Regions from separate parts of the Homo sapiens genome. Here region 1 is linked to region 2. Evidence: promoter capture Hi-C in 16 types of primary human blood cells and fetal thymus (Javierre and others, 2016). All regions are on one chromosome and are shown on one strand. Each heading gives the region's core, a stretch centred on a gene start or on the middle of the fragment in contact. The rest is flanking DNA. Distances are from core to core; before and after follow the strand shown.

The links. Contacts are between HindIII fragments. The CHiCAGO score rates a contact against its expected background, and 5 or more counts as called.
Region 1: a fragment that was not itself captured here is called in contact with the fragment with the promoter of NMRK1 in region 2 in 2 of 17 cell types (total B cells and total CD4 T cells); the score reaches 5.8 in total B cells.

The regions. Positions count from the first base shown.
Region 1 is chr9:70,418,621-70,422,035 of GRCh38, reverse strand. The region is part of intron 1 of KLF9-DT (KLF9 divergent transcript); the gene reads right to left. Among named protein-coding and RNA genes, the nearest start is that of KLF9, 5.7 kb to the right of the region's middle. RefSeq lists silencers at 1,593-1,682, 2,613-2,662, 2,763-3,072 and an enhancer at 2,510-3,231. The HindIII fragment of the contact is 2,727 bases long and covers 543-3,269 here.
Region 2 is chr9:75,086,905-75,090,032 of GRCh38, reverse strand. NMRK1 (nicotinamide riboside kinase 1) reads left to right here and starts at 1,878. Exons shown (of 9, transcript NM_017881.3): 1 at 1,878-2,025. It overlaps OSTF1 (osteoclast stimulating factor 1), which reads right to left and starts at 1,519. Exons shown (of 10, transcript NM_012383.5): 1 at 1,307-1,519. The coding sequence starts at 1,340. RefSeq lists silencers at 1,129-1,218, 1,409-2,008. The HindIII fragment of the contact is 4,153 bases long and covers 1-3,128 here.

The DNA.
Region 1 (3,415 bases), core at 657-3,156, 4.7 Mb after region 2:
GCAGATGACAGCCACAAAGCGGAGGTGGTATAGTCTGATGGCAGGTACTTCAAAGCAGCTGGGGTGGAGGGGGAAGAAAGAAGAGTCTATCTTGGTGAATAATTCTCCTGCCAAGGGTTTGTTCTGAATTCCACTCTCTAGTATCTCACCAAGCTTCCTTCCCTCTTTTGGCAGCTGAGAGGCCATCCAGGGTAAGGATTTTTTCAGGGTCGTGGGGTCAGAAGGAAACCAGCAAACAGTCAGGACTTTTATTCCCTCTTCTCTGCTACCAAAATACCAAGGCAGTGTTTTGGGTATTTAAAAGAACATTTTAAATGTCCTTGTTTGTTTCTGCCTCTGTGCAACATTGTGCTGGGAAGGACAGGGAGCTGGTAACCATGGCAGTGGAGCAGAGGGTGGTGGTGAAGAGGTGGTTTTTAAATGGGGTGAACTTCAGGCAGGCGGCACCCAGAGCTGGAACCCCCACGGCCTCCTTGGAGTCCTTTGTTCATTCAGCTTACTTAGGGAGAGAGCCTGCATTCTTCCCCGCTGTGAAGCAAGCTTTGAAAGGAAAGGTTTTGCCAGACTCCATAAGGAGAGGGTGTGTCCCTAGGAGCAGGTTTTGGGGTTCTGCCTGAAAACCTTGGTCGGCAGAGAATTTTGGGCACCCTGTTACGAACAGGACAGTCTGTGATGGCAAAGAAGCCAGCTCTGCAGCATCCTGGATGCAGAGTTCTTACACACCGTTAGCTGTCTCACCACTTCTCCCTGGACAGGTGGCCACTCGTGGGGGTGGCCCAGAATCCTGGCCAAAAAAGACAGCCAGGCAGGGCCCCCACAGGAAGGTAGCTGGCAGGGGAGTCAGGAGGAGAGGAAGGGGGAGGGAAGCAGTCACCTCTTCCACGTTCCTGGATAGGGAGCCTTAAGACCCTTTTCAGGACAAATAAGTGCCCCCCAAAAAGCGGACACAGGGCAAGGCAGGACAGGACAGGGCAAACCTGGGGCACAGCTCGGGGCCAGGGAAGTCCCATGACTGCAGTGTTCAGCTGCAGGTTTCCCAGCTGCTCTGGGCGGGAAGCGGCGCCGGGAGATGGGGGCGGGGAGAAGGGAGGGGAAAAGAGGAGGAGGGAAGTAAACAGGAGACCACAGAGAGAGCCAGTTCCCGGCGTTCAGAGAACACTAGCCGCCTCCGGTCCCCGGTGGGTGGCTGTATGTGTGGAAATGAAACTGGGAGGAGGAGGGAGAGAGGGAAGAGCGGGCACGCACTTCTCGGCTGTCATCCACCTTGCCTCTTCCGACCCTCCAGCCCGCTCCCCACCGGGGTAGGGGGTTGGGGGAGGTGGGAGGAAAACAGTTCAGCAAACGCCCACCTCCAAGTACCAGTAGCTGGTTCAGCTGTCGGTGAATCAGACACTGTCTCAGCAGCTTGTCACCTGCGCTTGGGAGGGGAACAGAGGGCAACCTTGGAACTTGGGAGGGGGAGGTTGGGAAAGTGCAGGATCCAGCACTGGGCCTGGGCCTGGGCGTAGGGGTGACGCCTACGGCTCGGAAAAGGGCTATCCACCTCCCTACACCTACACACGTCTCGACCCAGTACCCGGACGCCGAGTAGAGGGGGTGGGACAAGAGCATGGGGGCCGTACAGAAGGGGGAACTGGAAGAAGGGGAGGGGAGAATGGGTTGGGGGTGTGCTGCGGCGGGAAGCGCTGGGTGCCGGGCGGGCGCGGCCGCGGGGAGAGCTGCTGCCCGGTGCCTGCCCGCGCGAGGTTATGCGAGGTAACCGAGCGGAGAGGAGGAGGGAGGCGGCGGGGGCCGCGGGCCGGGGTGTCTGGCACTCGTTGGACAAAGAGATGATGAAACGTGAGCGCTATATTTACCAAGGGGGTGGAGACGGGGCGGGGGGGGCGGAGAGTAAAAAGGACAAACTGTTCCACAACAACCACAGGAAACACAGCCCATTCTGACTCACTGGGAGGGCCACACCGAACCCCTCGCAGGCTTAGCCTGAAGGCAGACGCGGGGCGCAGGTGCTCCCGGGACCGGACCGAACCTGGGCTGGGGCTGGATTGATTTATAAATAAAGGCACATTCGATCCAAGAGTGCGTGTGTGCGTGCGTGTGGTTCTTGTGGGGTAGGGGAGAGCACGGAATGGCAGGAATGTTTCCTAACCCCTTGGCCGGGCCATCGCGGGAGAGATCTGCCGGCAAACTCTGGGAGCGCAATTCCTGCAAAGTCATCTCCTCCCGCACAGCCTGGCCGGCCTGCCCGCCACGCCCCGCCCGGGGACAGCAGCACCCGCCTCCCCCACTCCCTCCCCACCCCCGCAGCCCATGGAGTTGGGGTGCGGTGCTTGCTATGTTTAGAAGCTGATGTCATCTCGACACCCTACTCTGCAGTGTTCCTAGGAGGACCGCAGGGCAGGTTTTCCTCTTCCTCGCGGGCGTGGGGGATGGAAGGTGGCCAAGGTGCCCTGCCCTCTCCCCAACACAGGAACCCCACACCCATCTACCCGGGAGATTAAAAGAAAAAAAAATGCAACACCGCCAGAGTTATGAAACAGGGTGGCGGGGGCGGTACGTGCACGCGGAGAGCGCAAAGCAAGGGCCTGGGCCGCGCGGGGCTCCCCCCCGGTCCCCGCCCACTCCCACCCCCGCGCTCCCGGGTGCAGGGGCTAATTTCAAGGTTAGCTCACGTGGGCGTGGGCGCCCGGAGCTCCTTGCACGAGTTTGGGGCGGGTTCCTGGTCCCCCAATCTAGGGCAGTTTGTTCAACTGCAGTAAAGGGAGCTTGATGTTCCAGCAGGGAAGGGATTTCTGAGAACTGGGACTGTCCTCAGATGAACTCGCCTCCTCAGGCTGCTGCGGCGGCGGCCGCCTGCGGAAGACTTTTTAAAAGGGCGATGCCAGGCCGGGGCGCGCGGTCCACGAGTGGCTGAGTCGCCCGCCAGTCCGCGGCCGGAGCCGAGCGCCCGCCCCCGAGCGCGGGTGATTCACCGAGTGCCGCGCTGGGCCGGTCGGAGCGCGGGGGGCTGCGAGCTAAACTTATCCTCCTGCATATGCATGAACGGGCGGCCTTTCTGCGCTGCAGAGGAGAGGGCTGGAGTTTTGCGGAAGGCTGCTAAGTGGGGCGGGAGCAAAGTAGGGCGGCGTGCAAGTTTTCGCGCTTGCCTGAGCGCCCTTCCCCCTCCAGCCCCTGGGTGTTAGCTGTCATTATGGCCACGGGCGTTCCACCAGATCGGGCTTTACCTGATTGTATTTCAAAATCCAGGAACATCGCCATTGTTGGAAGCTTTATCCCTTTAGCCTCTCCCCTCCTCAAGCTCGCCTCCTTCTCTAATTCCCCTGCTTTCAACAAAATGAACACTGGTTTCCTCCACATATGTTCCGTGTGCCTAGGTGGGGTCGCTGGAGCTGGAGGGGCTGGGCCCTGAAAGGGA
Region 2 (3,128 bases), core at 629-3,128:
GCAGAACCCAACTCTAGCTGTGCCCCATCTTTGCCCAGGGCAGAGCCAGTCTCAGCAACTTCCTTCACACTCAGCCCACCAAGATGTCAGTCCTCAGTGAAGCACTATTCCACATACGTACGTACATGATTATCAAATAAAGGGACTTCATACTCCAACTGCAGGAACGCAAAGAAACAAAACTAGATAAGTATGAAAGCTATAGAGTTTAGGAAAATCAAGGAAAAAAGTAATCACTGAAACTCATCTCTTGCAAAGAAAGTTACTTCAAAATTTGACGTAAATGGATTAAATTTCAGCATTTCGCTATACCGAAATTACACTATGGGAAGAAAAAACCCAAGAATACATCGGAGCCATTTATCTTCCATTTCCTGTATTTCCCTTAATTACCTACCCAAATGAATGCACGTAAGAGTTGTTAAAGTATTGAAATACGTCAGTCCTTTCTAATTACCTACCCAAATGAATGAGCGGAACAGTATGTTACAACTTTTAATTAAAATACGTCAGTTTCTTTTACAATTATCTTATTTCTGCATATCACAGAAAATATTCTAAGAACAGAGCAAAAATGAACAAGGACAATCCGCCCAGAAAACTGCTTTGAGGAATTTAGTAATCTCAGCCCTCTCAGGTTTAGCACGCCAACGTCTTTGGGAGAGCAAAGGCAAAGGAGATGATAAAATGACACTTCCAAATAGCAACAGCTGAGATCACTGCCGCATCCTAGATTCTTTCCACCAGGAGCGCGAGTATAGGGTTTTTTTCTAAACGCTCTTCCCAAGATCCCGAGGTCAATTTCAAACGCTGCTCCACGCTTAAGTCCCGAGGGAGGCTCGCTCGCCCACCCCACCCTGCAGGGATTGCACTTCCCGTTCGCTCTGGCCGGTCAGGAACCCTAACTTGACAGTGACAAACACTGAGAAAAGAGGAAGTGGCTAAAGATCATTTCATGACATTTTTTAAAGGGAGATCAATGGCCCTGTCTTTCCGGAAAACTTCCATGGGACGTTGCCATCACACCCTCTGAAAGTTTCAGCGAATGACAACGTAGCAAAAGTGAGGGCTACTCCCCTTTAAATATATATATATATATTAATCCTCGAAATCCTCTTGCTATCAAAATCGATCCCTCCTCCGTAACAGCGAACGCAAAACTAAGAGCGCCCATCCCGGTGGGGCCGATCTCGGAAGCCAGGCTCGGGGCCGGGTGCGCGCCGGGTCCTCCCTGCCAAGCTGCAGAGGAGGCGCCGGCACCGCGGCGGTCGCAGGACCTGGCAAGCGCCTACCTTACCTCCCTCACCTGGTTTGACTGGTTTGGGTGGCGGCTTCGACATCTCGCTTCCTGGAGCTGCAAATCCTAAAGACCCCGCCGAAAAGCCCACCGCTTGCCCGCCACCTGGCACTCCGGGCACCCCAGTTCTTTTTGTCTGGCTTACAACCGTGCGCCTCCTAGGACCGGCGCCCACCCTTGGCTGCGGGAAGAGCGGACGCAGGCAGAGCGGCTCCGCCGAGTGCTCCGCCCCGCCCCGCGGCCGCCGGAGCAGTCCAGAGCGCGCGCCGGGCCGACGAGGAAGTGGACCCCGCCTAGCCGAGCGCTAATTGGCTCCCGGGCTGGCAGCTTCGCCGCAGCAGGAGCGCGGGCGGCGCGCACGGCGGCGGAACCAGCCGGAGCCGAGCGAGGGCGAAGCGGGCGTGCGCCAGTGCAGTGCCGCGGGCCGCGCGCGCTCCCGATAGGGAAGGGCCGGAGCTGCGCAGGGGCGCGCGGAAGAGGCCAAGCTAGCCGGAGCCCCGCCCCGCCCCGCCCCGCCCCAACGGGGGCTGGAACCCGGCGCCGAGAGTAGAGAAAAGGGGCCTCTGGTGACCGCCCCTACCTGGCATCCCTCTAACCCAGGAGGAGCGTGGGGAAAGGGGCTGTGGGCCTCTCGGGGAGCGAGCTGCGGGTAGCGGCGCACTGGGTACAGGCGCGCGCTTGGCTGTCGCCTCTGCCGCTGTGTTTGGGAGGACTCGAACTGGCGCCAGGTGAGTGCGTACCTGCTCGCCCCTGCCGCGCCGCGCCGCCTTGCTGGGGCCTGGAGGTGTTTCCAGAGGGTTTCTGTGCTGGAGCCCGGGACTTGGTTGCGCCCTGAAAGCCTTGCCTGGACTCTTGCCACCCTCACAGAGCTGATAGGTGGCCTGCCGAGGAGGACGTGTACTCATGGTGGCGTGGTGCTCTAGCGCCCCGGAATAATCCTGAAAATGGGAACGCTGCCTCCAAGAGACCGCGCAGCCTGGAGAAGTCGCCAGGGACAGGATCAGGACTTGATCCTCGCGGATCGATATGGTCTCATTCCTCTAGCGTTGGGGTGATGACCTACTGCCCGCCTGCTGCCTGTTACTGTAAGGCCTGCTAAGAATTTTTTTTTTTTTTACTTTTTTTAATGACTGAAAAGAAATAAAAAGAAATATAATACTTTGTGACACGTGAAAATTACATGAAATTACGATTTCAGTGTCCGTAAAATTTTACTGGAACACGGTCACGCTCATTTGCATCTGTGTTTTCTGTGGCCGCTTTCGCATTACCCAGCAGGGTTGAGTAGCAGCTGGCAAAGCCCAAAGCATTTCCTGTCTGGCACTTTACAGAAAAAGTTTTCCTACCCCTGATCTATCGGATTGAATCTTCGGTGGGAGGAAAGAACTGGAGCACACAAGGAAGCCAATGGCATAAGTTCAAAATAACAGTCAATATTGTAAATTAATTGTATATTTGGGGAAAGAAAAAACTGTTTACCTAAGAACCTACATAAATGAAACCAATGGGGGAGGGGCATGAATTGCGTTTTCAAAAACCCCAGCCCTTCACGTCTGTAATCCCAGCACTTTGGGAGGGCAAGGCGGGTGGATCACGAGGTCAAGAGATCAAGACCATCTTGGCCAACCTGGTGAAACCCGATCTCTACTAAAACTGCAAAAAATTAGCCGGGCGTGGTGGCAGACGCCTGTAGTCCCAGCTACTCGGGAGGCTGGGGCAGGAGAATCACTTGAACCCAGAAGGCGGAGGTTGCAGTAAGCCGAGATTGCGCCACTGCACTCCAGCCTGGCAACAGAGCGAGACTCTGTCTTAAAAAAAAAAAAAAAACCCA